Regions from separate parts of the Homo sapiens genome. Here regions 1, 3 and 4 are each linked to region 2. Evidence: promoter capture Hi-C in 16 types of primary human blood cells and fetal thymus (Javierre and others, 2016). All regions are on one chromosome and are shown on one strand. The core of a region is centred on a gene start or on the middle of the fragment in contact, and the rest is flanking DNA. Distances in the headings are between cores, read along the strand shown.

Region 1 (2,716 bases), core at 189-2,688, 380 kb before region 2:
AATTTGGAAGGATGGCATGAAGTCATTCATAACAAGGACTTAATCCATAGTAAGTGCCAGAACATTGCTGGCTGTTAATATGGTTATTATAAAGAGAACAATGCATGCATATTCCTCCTCTGAGGATCTCCTACCTGATTCCCAGACACACCCAAGGGAGTTAGAACATCTGTTTGGACTCCAGGTGGGCTGTCCACGCCTTTACCATTTTCCTGGTTGTTAACATGTTCCTGATCAGCACTGGGTGCTGTCCCAGGTGCTGAGAGGATTCTCCCACAATGCCCTTTGCTTTCCCCATCAGAGGGTTTATGGCACCCAATTCTCATTCACATTCTGTCTCTCCTTTCTCGTTCTTCTCTATCTCTCCTCTCTCTGTCTCCTTTTCTCTTCCTCTCTCCCTCTCTGTCTTCTCTCCCTCTCTCTCCCTCTCTCTTCCTCTCTCTCTTCCTCTGTCCTCTTTTCTCTCTCTCTCTCCCTCTCTCTCACATCTCTCTTTCCCTTCCTTTCTCTTTCCTCTCTCTTCCTCTCTCCCTCTCCCTCCTTCTGTCTTCCTCTATCCCTCTCTTCCTCTTTTTTCTTCCTCTCTTCTTGTCTCTTTCTCTCCTCTCTCTCTCCCTCTTTCTCTTTCTCTCTCTCTTCCTCTCCCTTCCTCTTCCTCTCTCTCCTTCTTTCTTCCTCTCTCTCTTCTTGTGTGTGTCTCTCTCTCTCTGTTCTCTCTCTCCCTCTCCCCCCAACTCTCTTTCCCTACACACATCTTAAGAGGCCTCAGCAGTGTAAGGTAAGTTTAGCGACCCTGTGGCTGTGTAGAGATAAGCAAAGGGGGGCAAGGAGCTCCAGTGGTCCCAGACTCCAGCCATTTGAGTCTTTGCAGCCCAAGCACTGCCCCAGCTTCTTGACAGCCCCAGCCATCACCAAAGGGCACACAGATAAGCTGCCTCCACCAAGGCCTGTGCAGATGGTAGGTTTTTGAGTAAAATAGATATGATCCTTGTCTGAAGCCACTGAGTTTTAGAATAATTTGTTATATGGCCATAGTAACTGGAATGATTGCTGTAGGTTTATTTTATTTTATTCATCCTTGCTGCATGCAACACATGCATGGCTCAGTAACTAGAAGGAAAGAAGAGAAGAAGGGAGGGAGAGGCAGAGGGTGGACAGGAGAGGATGGTAGGAAGGAAAGACAGGAAAGGAGGGTGTTGGTGGCCTTGCCTGCAAGCTGAGCAGACACCACGCAAACAGGTGACCTCCCAGTTAAGATGGAGGGGACTCAGGGCTCAGGAGGGGCAGAAGGTCCCCGTGTCGGAGAGCTGGGCAAGCTTTCTGCAGGAAATGATGGGGATCACGGCCATGTGAGCCGGCAAGATTTCCCTCAGCCAGGGAGGAGACTCCGGGCTGTGGGAACAGCTTAAGCAGAAGGCATGGGACAGGAATGCATATGAGAGATATTGTGGGAGGAGGGAGGGCTGCCTGGGCTGGCATGCAGGGTATGGGAGGGGGTGGAAGGGCTGAGGCGGGAGCCATCAGTAAAAGGACCCAGAGCGCGGCTCCAATGCCATGGTAGGAAGCTTGGCGTTGACTCAGAGGGCGCTGGGTACCGCTGAAGAGTGTTGAGCCAAGGAGGGTCATGTCACGGGCAGATACATGTTTTAGAATTTCTTCTTTTCTGGCTGAGATGTAGAGTATGGACTGGAGAGAAGCACAGGGGACATAGGAAAGGTAGTTCTAGAAAGAGGGGCTGTCCCACCAGGGAAAGTCAACCAACTGTTCCCCAGTATCCATTCCTCCCTTCCAGCTCATGGCACTAAAGCCACTGATTGATTAGCTGGGTGCTATCAATCTCTCTCTCATCTCTCTCTCCCTCTTTCTCTCCCCCTCATCTGTGTCTTTTCTCTCTCTCATCTCTCTGTCTCCCTCTTTCTGTCCCCCTCCTCCGTGTCTCCTCTCTCTCTCTTCTCTGTCTCATATCTCTCTCATTGCTCTCTCCCTCTTTCTCTCCCCCTCCTGTGTCTCCTTCTCTCTCTCTCTTTCTCCCCCATCTCTCTTTCTCTCCCCCTTCCTCTCTTTCTCCTCTCACTCTTCCTGTTTCTCTCTTTCTCTTTCTTCCTCTCTTTCTCCCTGTCTCTCTCTTCCTCTTTTCCTTTGTCTCTCTCTCTCCCCCCAACTCTCTCTCCCTACACACATCTTGAGAGACCTCAGCAGTGTAAGATAAGTTTAGCTACTCCACGGCCTGGCACGGTAGCTCACGCCTTTAATCCCAGCACTTTGAGAGGCCAAGGCAGGCAGATCACTGGAGATTAGGGGTTTGAAACCAGCCTGGCCAACATGGTGAAACCCTGTCTCTACTACAAGTACCAAAAAATTAGCTGGGCATGGTGGCACGCGCCTGTAGTCCCAGCTACTCGGAAGGCTGAGGCAGGAGAATCGCTTGAGCCTGGGAGGCGGAAGTTGCAGTGAGCCGAGACCACACCTCTGCACTCCAGCCTGGGTGACAGAGTGAGATTCTGTCTCAAAAAAAGAAAGAGGAGGCCGGGCACTGTGGCTCAGGCCTGTAATCCCAGCACTTTGGGAGGCCGAGGCATGCAGATCACGAGGTCAGGAGATCGAGACCATCCTGGCTAACACAGTGAAACCCCGTCTCTATTAAAAATACAAAAAAATTAGCCAGGCACGGTGGCGGGTGCCTGTAGTCCCAGCTACTCGGGAGGCTGAGGCAGGA
Region 2 (2,700 bases), core at 157-2,656:
GACCTTGTTTTGTTCACTGGTGTATCCCCAGCTCCTGGCCCACAGAAGGTGCTCAAGAAATATGTGTCGAATGAATGAGAGTCTGGGCTTCTCCCTCTCCCTGCATCACTCCGCAACAGCCGGGCCGGCTCTGGCGCGACTTTCTCAGCCCCTGCCCACCTTCAGCTACGCCGGCGGCCGCCACCTGGGTCTCTGACCACCACGCCCTATCCCTGCAGCCCCTCCTCCTCGGATGGCTCCACCTCCCTTGCTGGGCCCCGCCCCAGGCTCGCAGTCCTCCCGCCCGAGAGCACACGCACCTGGGCACGTTGATATCCCGGTGCGCCCGGGGCGCACGGGACGCCTTGCTGAAGGCCACTTTGGCGCCGACGCCCACGGCCAGGGCGAAGCTGATGACCCCGCACACGACGTAGGCTGTGCTGCCCCCGGGGCCCTCGCCCCCGCGGCCCCCGGCACCCCCAGTCCGGCCCCCTTCCAACCACCCGGCCTGGCCGGGCCCTGGCCCCCCGCCCGCACCCCCAGCGCCCCCGGCGCCCCCAGCTAGCGGCGGCGGCGTGGTGGCCCAGCGCGGCGTGTCGTAGTTGGAGCAGGAGGCCTGCGCCAGGCGCATGTGACGGTGCTCACAGCAGAAGCGGTAGTGGCAGGTGCCACAGCAGAAGCGGTAGGAGCCGGTGCTGCAGTTGAAGGTGGCGTCGTACTGGCCCATGACATCGTAGTAGCCGTGGCAGAGCTCGGCGGGAGGGGGCGCCCGGGCCGCCGCGCCCGCCCCGCCCGCGGGGCCGGTCCTGGTGCCGTTGGCGCCTGGGCTCGCCGCGCCCCCGCCGCCCGTCAGCGCCCCGGTCAGGCGCCGCAGGTGCGCCAGCAGGGCGGGCAGCGGGCCCGCGGGCTCGGCGCTCGTGGCGTTGGACGGGCGCGCCCTGGCCTGGCCGGCGCTAGAGGCCAGGAGTACGAGGAGCAGGAGGGCCGGCATGGGGCTTGCAGGGGGTCGCACTGGGCCGCCAGGCTGCGGGGAGAACGAGAGCAGAGGTTGGAGCGCTGGGCGGGAGAGAAACGGTCAGAGGGTGAGAAACGTAGAGATGGGTGGGCAGAGAGGCTGGGGAGGGCGGGCGGGGGGCGGCAGAGTGTGGGGAGCAACAGGCGCCAGGAGGCAGGAAGGGCGGAGGGAGCTGAGCTGCGTGGGCCCAAGTTGGCCGCCCCACGCGCGGTGGGCGACGATGGGAGAGTAATGGAAACGCGCCCGGGCACGGCTGGGGGAGAGAAATGAGCATGGGCGGACAGAACCGGGATCAGGCGAGAGATGAATGCGGGAGAAGCGATTGGGAGGGTCGACAGACACCAGAGGGGTGTGCAGACATTAGGACGAGGAGCGAGGCGAGGCGCGATGTAAGGAGAAGAAACGGGGGCGGCGAAGAGGAGAGGGCAGGGGAGGCAGCTGGAGGGAGGCGCGCGAAGGGGAGGGGAGGGTGGCGAGGGGAGTGGGGACCGCGGAGGGAGGGAAGGAAGCGAGACAGATGAGGGGTGGGTGGGAAAGGAGGAGTCAGGGAGACGGGGAAGGAGGGAGAAAAGAAGGGGAGGAGGAGGAGGGGGAGGAGAGGGAGGGAGGAGGAGAGAGAGAAGTTGAGAATTTGAGTTTATAGACCAGGCAAGTGGGAAGAGGCAGTGCACGGTTTTTCAACACTGACATTCGGGGACCGATGCTGCTTTGTGGTGAGCGCCTGTCCTGAGCGCTGTAGGATGTTTAGCAGCGCCCTCTCCATGCCAGCAGCACCACATTCCCCCGAGTTGTGACAATGTAAGATGTTTCCAGGCATTGCCAAATGTTCCCCTGGTGGGAGGAGGCCACAGCTGCCCCCGTGGAGAACCACTGACTTACACCCCTATGGTCCTCAGTGCCCCGAAATGCCAATTTCTCTCCCTTAGTTAGATCTGATAATCAAGGGATCTTAGGTGCCCTCCCTCCCTCCCTCTCTCTCCCTCTCTCTCTCTCTCTCCCTGGCATGCACACGCACACACACACCACTGTTACGGCGTCGGGTTTGAAGGGTCTCTGTCCACAGCTGAACCACAACCACAGCAGGGTGGTTCCCCTGCCGACTGGACCTCCTGCCAGCTGCCTGACACTGACAGGCTCTTATCTAAGCTCCCTGTGCCCCAAGTCCCCCATCTGTAAAATGGGGATAAGGATGGTTATCTCTGAGTGGTCAGGAGGATGAACTGAGGGAATATGTGTAAAGAGCTTAGAACAGTGCCTGGCATATTGCAGGTGAAATATGAAAGTGTTTGCTGCTGCTGCTATTTCAGAAGGGAGATACAGGCTGAGAAAGGGTCGTCCGGGTGCGGCGGCTCACGCCTGTAAATCCCAGCACTCTGGGAGGCCAAGGTGGGCAAATTGCTCAAGCAGGAGACCAGCCAGCCTCGCCAACACAGCAAAACCGTGTCTTTACAAAAAAAAAAAAAAAAAAAATTAGCCCGGCGTGGTCGTGCGCACCTATAGTCCCAGGTACTCAGGACGCTGAGGTGGGAGGATAACTTGAGTCCCAGAGATCAAGGCTGCTGGGAGCTGTGATTTCACCACCGCACTCCAGCCTGAGTTGACAGAGTGAGACCCTGTCTCAAAAGAGAGAGAAAAGGTGATGCAGAAGAGAGGTGGGAGTTGGTGGTGGTGGTGGTGGGCACGTCTTCCAGCTGTTTCTATGGCAA
Region 3 (2,700 bases), core at 201-2,700, 330 kb before region 2:
AGCCTAAATCACCCAGATCTGGATCCCTAGCTGGGCCCTGAACCAGAGCGGGAGAGGCTACAAAGAATGTCAAGGAGAAACGCAGGCAACAGTGTAGCATCAAGGTTGGTGCAGTGGGTGAGAGTGTAGCATCAAGGTTGGTGCGGTGGGTGAGAGTGTAGCATCAAGGTTGGTGCGGTGGGTGAGAGTGTAGCATCAAGGTTGGTGCGGTGGGTGAGAGTGTAGCATCAAGGTTGGTGCGGTGGGTGAGAGTGTAGCATCAAGGTTGGTGCGGTGGGTGAGAGTGTAGCATCAAGGTCAACACAGGGGGTAGCGTGTTGCATCCCTACTGTGGTTCTGCAGGAGGTTTTCCTTGTGGCAGGAGATACCTGCTGTGCATCAGGCGAAGATGTACAATGCCTGCAACACAGTCTCAGAATGGCCGGGCTCACGCCTGTAATCCCAACACTTTGCGAGGCCGAGGCCAGCAGATCGCCTGAGGTCAGGAGTTGGAGACCAGCCTGGTCAACATGGTGAAACCCCATCTCTATTAAAAATGCAAAATTAGCTGGGCATGCTGGCTCACGCCTGTAATCTCAGCTACCCAGAAGCTGAGGCAGGAGAATCGCTTGAACCCAGGAGGTGGAGGTTGCAGTGAGCCGAAATCATGCCATTGCACTCCAGCCTGGGCAAAAAGTGAAACTCTGTTTCAAAAAAAAAAAAAAGGCTCAGGAATGGAAAGGCAGGGGTGGGGTGGTAAGAAAGGAAGGGAGAGATGGAGGGAAAAAAACAGGAGGAGAAAGGATAGGAAAAAATGTGTTTATGTCTATACCTGGGAAGAGATCGCAAGGGAGGGACAGAGAGAAGGAACACAAATCTATCAAAAAGTTAAAAGCTGATGATTCTATACTGTATGATTCCCTTTATGTGAAGTGTACAAAACAGCAAATCCACAGACAGAAGGCAGAGAGGGCTTCGTGGGGTGGGGGGGAGGGGGGGGTGCATGGTTGGGGGTGATGGCTAAGCGGTTGCAGGGTTTCGTTGGGGGATGATGAAAATGTTCTACAACCAATGTGGTCATAAATGCCCGACCCCGTGAATAGACTAAAAAGCACTGAAGTGTGCACTTTGGGTGAATTGTAGGGTAGGTGAATTACATCTCAAAAAGCTGTCTAAAAAACAAAAACAAAAAAGAAAAAGCACTGGCGAATCTTAGTGAAAGTCATATGGGTAGTCACATGCTATTGCTTCAACTTTTCTGTAAATCTGAAGCTTTCCCAAAATAAAAAGTTGGAGGAGGAAGGAGACAGAATCCAGGTCCAGGGCTGATTTGACCCACTCCCCATTTCAACCAAAGAGGGGCTCCCGAACCTCAGATCTCCGCCGTCACGTGTCCCACTAGCTAGTCCTCCCGCATGGCTCTCGTGGACCCCTGAACCCACGCGGAATCCTATCCTTTCAGCCTGGCCAGCGGCCCCGTCAGGACAGCCGCGTCAGAAGTCTCGGAGGCTGCCGGTATCTCATTTCCTCGTCAGTCTCCCTTTCCTTCCACACGGTCCCCTGGAGTCTGCCGGGAACCATGCTCACACCCTTCCACTCCAACCCAGCCAGACCCTGACAACCACCCCATGAAGCGGCACCAGTGGTCCTGTTTTAGGAAATCAGGGAAGCAAGCTTCAGGGACGTGCCTGGAGTCACCAGTCACAGGCAGAGCTGGGAGGCAAGCCCAGGACTTTAGAAGACATGCTGGGGACCCAGGGATCCTGTGTGGCCATCACACACCTGCTAGAAGCAACACCCCTTCCCTAGAAAAATGAACCTGGCCAGACACAGTTTCAGGGGCTCCTGGACCCCATATGAAGGCTCCTGGGGTACGATGAGTCTCAGAGGACAGGGAGACCAGTCCCTGGCAACCCCTGCATGCCCCTACTCCCCCCCAAGTAAACGCATCCCCTCCCAGAAAGACCTGCGGCAGGGTTCCAGCAATCCTACCTAACGCACTCCTGGGTGAGTCCCTCCACCCACCCACCCCGCCCCGGCATTCCAATCCCCTCAGTTACTCAGGGGGATTGACAGTCCCAGTTGGTAGGGGTTTGAGTTCTCATCCTGTGCGTGTGCTGGGCTCCAAGCAATCCTGGAGGCAGGCCCCTACACCCCCATTTCACAGGTGAGGAAACTGAGGCACAAAGAAAGACAATCCTAGGAAGCAGGGTCAGCCTCGGTGCCCAGGCCGCCTCTAAAGCTCTCAGCCTGGAGACCACGGGTGAGGAGGTGTCCCCCACCCCACACACAGCACACCAGAGCCCACCTCGGCGGGCGATCTCCGCCTTCAGCAGCCCCTCCATGGCGTCCGACTCGGCCAGGTCCAGGGGCAGGTCCCCGTCACTGTTGACGGCGGCGATGTTGGCCCCGTGGCTCAGGAGGTACCTGGGGGTGGGGGCTGGTCAGGGCTGAGGGTCCAGGCCCCCACCCCGACCAGGTCCTGCCCGGCCCTCCCTTGCCTCACCTGGCGATATCTAGGTAGCCACAGGAGGCGGCCACGTGCAGTGGCGTCCAGCCCTCGTTGTCTGCCTGGTTCACAGTGGCGCCCTGCTCCACCAAGAAGCGCACCACCTCCAGGTTCTCATCAATGCAGGCCTGGGGGTGGGAAACAGCCGTCAGCCGCACCTACCCCAGCCACGGTGTCCCAGCAAGTCGGGACTCCAGAGGGAGCCACGAAAA
Region 4 (2,700 bases), core at 98-2,597, 360 kb before region 2:
GACAGGGTTTCACCATGTTGGCCAGGATGGTCTTGATCTCTTGACCTCATGATCTGCCCGCCTCAGCCTCCCAAAGCGCTGGGATTACAGGCGTGAGCCACCGCGCCCGGCCTAGCTAGTGTTTTTATTATGCTTATGAGTTATGATATATAAAGCCCAGTGCCTATTAGATGCTCAATAAATGACAGCTGTTTCTAGCTGTGTGATGTGGGCAAGTCATTTTCTCGCTCTGAGCCTCATTCTCCTCTGTAAAATGGAATCGATGGTGGGATAGTACCCACTACATATGCCTACAGCACAATGCCAAGCAACGGAGGGAGCAAATATATTCAGTCTGTTATTCTTGTTTCAAATTTCTATTAACAGTATTAACCCGGCCCCTGCTGTGCCCCCAGCTTGGCTCTAACCCCAGCTCACACCAGCACCCTGCAGCCCAGAGCAATGGGGCTGGCTGCCTCCTTATCTCCAACCCTCCCGCTTCTCCTCAGTCACCGAGACTTGGAGCCAGAATCTGAGCCTCAGCTGGAGTCAGAGACAGCAGGAAAATGGGTCCTGTGTAATTATGACTTCCAGGCCCGCAACAGCAGTGAGCTGTCGGTCAAGCAGCGGGACGTACTGGAGGTTAGAGGAGCGGGAGGCTGAGGGGCAGGAATTAGCCAGCCCTAGCTGCAGACAGGCTCTGAACCCTCTGTTCTTTACCACACCCAGGTCCTGGATGACAGTCGTAAGTGGTGGAAGGTTCGGGACCCAGCGGGGCAGGAGGGATATGTGCCCTACAACATCCTGACACCCTACCCCGGACCCCGGCTGCACCACAGCCAAAGCCCTGCCCGCAGCCTGGTGAGCCAGCGCAGACGCTGGGATCTTGAGGGTGGAGAGGCTGGGACCAGATCCTGGGAACAAGGGGCGTGGGGATCAGCTGTCAAGAGTGCTGGAGCAGGTGGTGACTGGGGGTTCAGAAATGCATCTCCAGAAAGGGGAGAGGCTGGGACTCTGAGTCCTCTCCCTAACCCAGGTACTCTCCTCTCCTTCCTTTCAGAACAGCACTCCTCCTCCACCACCAGCCCCAGCCCCGGCCCCACCTCCAGCTCTGGCTCGGCCCCGCTGGGACAGGCCCCGCTGGGACAGCTGCGATAGCCTCAACGGCTTGGACCCCAGCGAGAAGGGTGAGTGGTGGGGACGCCGGCTGCGGGGAGCGGTCCTTATCCTTGCTTTCCAGGCAGAGAAACGGGGGCTCAGAAAGAGCAAAGGGACTCCCGTCCCATTCTGGGGACGCTGGAGCGCCCCCCCGCCCCGCCCTCTGGCCCCAGGACCCCTCGCCCTGAGCCCGCACTCCCTACCTCCCGGTTTCCCGCCTGCAGAGAAATTCTCCCAGATGCTCATCGTCAACGAGGAACTGCAGGCGCGCCTGGCCCAGGGCCGCTCGGGACCGAGCCGCGCAGTCCCAGGGCCCCGCGCCCCGGAACCGCAGCTCAGCCCGGGCTCGGACGCCTCCGAGGTCCGCGCCTGGCTGCAGGCCAAGGGCTTTAGCTCCGGGTGAGTGGGGCCGGGGCCCTCTCGGCGCGGGTTGATACGGACGCTGGGAGCGGAGCGTTCCGATCGGCCGGGAGTCGGGGGGCGGCAGTCGTGGAGACCACAGGGAGCCGGGATTAGCCCGAAGTGAGGGTCTGTCTGGTAGCAACACCCAATGGCAGGCTGTGATTGCCATGTTTTTTCAGACTCCGACTGGATTCCTTAGGGAAATCCCGTACCCTTTGAAAGCAGGATGCGGCCACGCCCCCCGGGTGGCAACATTGTGATTGGTGGGTGGGGTTCAGGAGGTGTCGGGCCTGCCCCCGCTAGAGCTAGAATGCTGTTCTGATTGGACCATCGCCGGGTGGGCGTGACATGATTGTCCGGGCTGGGGCATCCGCCGACCGGCCTGACCGCGCCCGGGCTGCCCTCGCTCAGGACCGTGGACGCGCTGGGTGTGCTGACCGGGGCGCAGCTTTTCTCGCTGCAGAAGGAGGAGCTGCGGGCGGTGAGCCCCGAGGAGGGGGCACGTGTGTACAGCCAGGTCACCGTGCAGCGCTCGCTGCTGGAGGTGAGCCGGACCGCTGGTCCCTGGGTCTGGGTAGGGTTGGGATGACGAGGGCTCGGACGCCAGGACAAAGCGATTTCCACCCCGCCCTCCAGGACAAAGAGAAAGTGTCAGAGCTGGAGGCAGTGATGGAGAAGCAAAAGAAGAAGGTGGAAGGCGAGGTGGAAATGGAGGTCATTTGACCTGCCAGGCGCCCTTCGCAAAGAGTGACGAGGCCCCGTGGGAGAACGGACTCCTCAGACTCTCCCCAATAGCGGAAGTCGATCTTCTGAAGGATGGCCAATCTGCTCCGGCCCTGGTCTTCCCCCATCCCGGTGGACAGACTTAACGATCCTTGCTGCAGTCCCTCCGGAGAGGATCTGGACTGGCTGGGAGTGGGGAGGGCGTGGAGACAGTCTACGGAAAGCGCTAGCAGACCCCCGAGAGGGTGCAGTGGAGCCCTGAGCATTGTAATATGCGGCCCAGCCTATAAACAGCCTCCGTGCTTAGCAGATGGTGTGCCAACTGCTGTCCTCTACCCGGCTACCAGGGGGCTCAGAAACCTGCCCCTCGACCCAGTCACAGCCTCATGGAACCTGGAAAATGTTCCACCCTCTTTGGTTTCTCTCTGAACCCTCCTT

Evidence for each region. Contacts are between HindIII fragments. The CHiCAGO score rates a contact against its expected background, and 5 or more counts as called.
Region 1: a contact is called between a fragment that was not itself captured here and the fragment with the promoter of SHISA7 in region 2, in 2 of 17 cell types (total CD8 T cells and activated CD4 T cells). The highest score is 6.1, in total CD8 T cells.
Region 3: a fragment that was not itself captured here is called in contact with the fragment with the promoter of SHISA7 in region 2 in 10 of 17 cell types (erythroblasts, naive CD8 T cells, non-activated CD4 T cells and 7 more); the score reaches 8.6 in erythroblasts.
Region 4: a contact is called between a fragment that was not itself captured here and the fragment with the promoter of SHISA7 in region 2, in 6 of 17 cell types (activated CD4 T cells, fetal thymus, non-activated CD4 T cells and 3 more). The highest score is 7.5, in activated CD4 T cells.

What each region holds. Positions count from the first base shown.
Region 1 is chr19:55,066,030-55,068,745 of GRCh38, forward strand. It overlaps a transcript of RDH13 not described here. Among named protein-coding and RNA genes, the nearest start is that of RDH13, 4.2 kb to the left of the region's middle. RefSeq lists a silencer at 129-329. The HindIII fragment of the contact is 249 bases long and covers 1,315-1,563 here.
Region 2 is chr19:55,441,894-55,444,593 of GRCh38, forward strand. SHISA7 (shisa family member 7) reads right to left here and starts at 1,407. Exons shown (of 4, transcript NM_001145176.2): 1 at 300-1,407. The coding sequence starts at 970. RefSeq lists an enhancer at 99-727 and a silencer at 221-310. The HindIII fragment of the contact is 48,275 bases long and covers 1-2,700 here.
Region 3 is chr19:55,110,180-55,112,879 of GRCh38, forward strand. PPP1R12C (protein phosphatase 1 regulatory subunit 12C) reads right to left here. Exons shown (of 22, transcript NM_017607.4): 2 at 2,486-2,616; 3 at 2,288-2,406. Among named protein-coding and RNA genes, the nearest start is that of PPP1R12C, 6.1 kb to the right of the region's middle. The HindIII fragment of the contact is 402 bases long and covers 1,250-1,651 here.
Region 4 is chr19:55,085,353-55,088,052 of GRCh38, forward strand. It overlaps EPS8L1 (EPS8 signaling adaptor L1), which reads left to right. Exons shown (of 20, transcript NM_133180.3): 15 at 489-621; 16 at 709-840; 17 at 1,040-1,166; 18 at 1,362-1,536; 19 at 1,951-2,083; 20 at 2,176-2,571. The coding sequence ends at 2,262. Among named protein-coding and RNA genes, the nearest start is that of EPS8L1, 11 kb to the left of the region's middle. The HindIII fragment of the contact is 4,773 bases long and covers 1-2,700 here.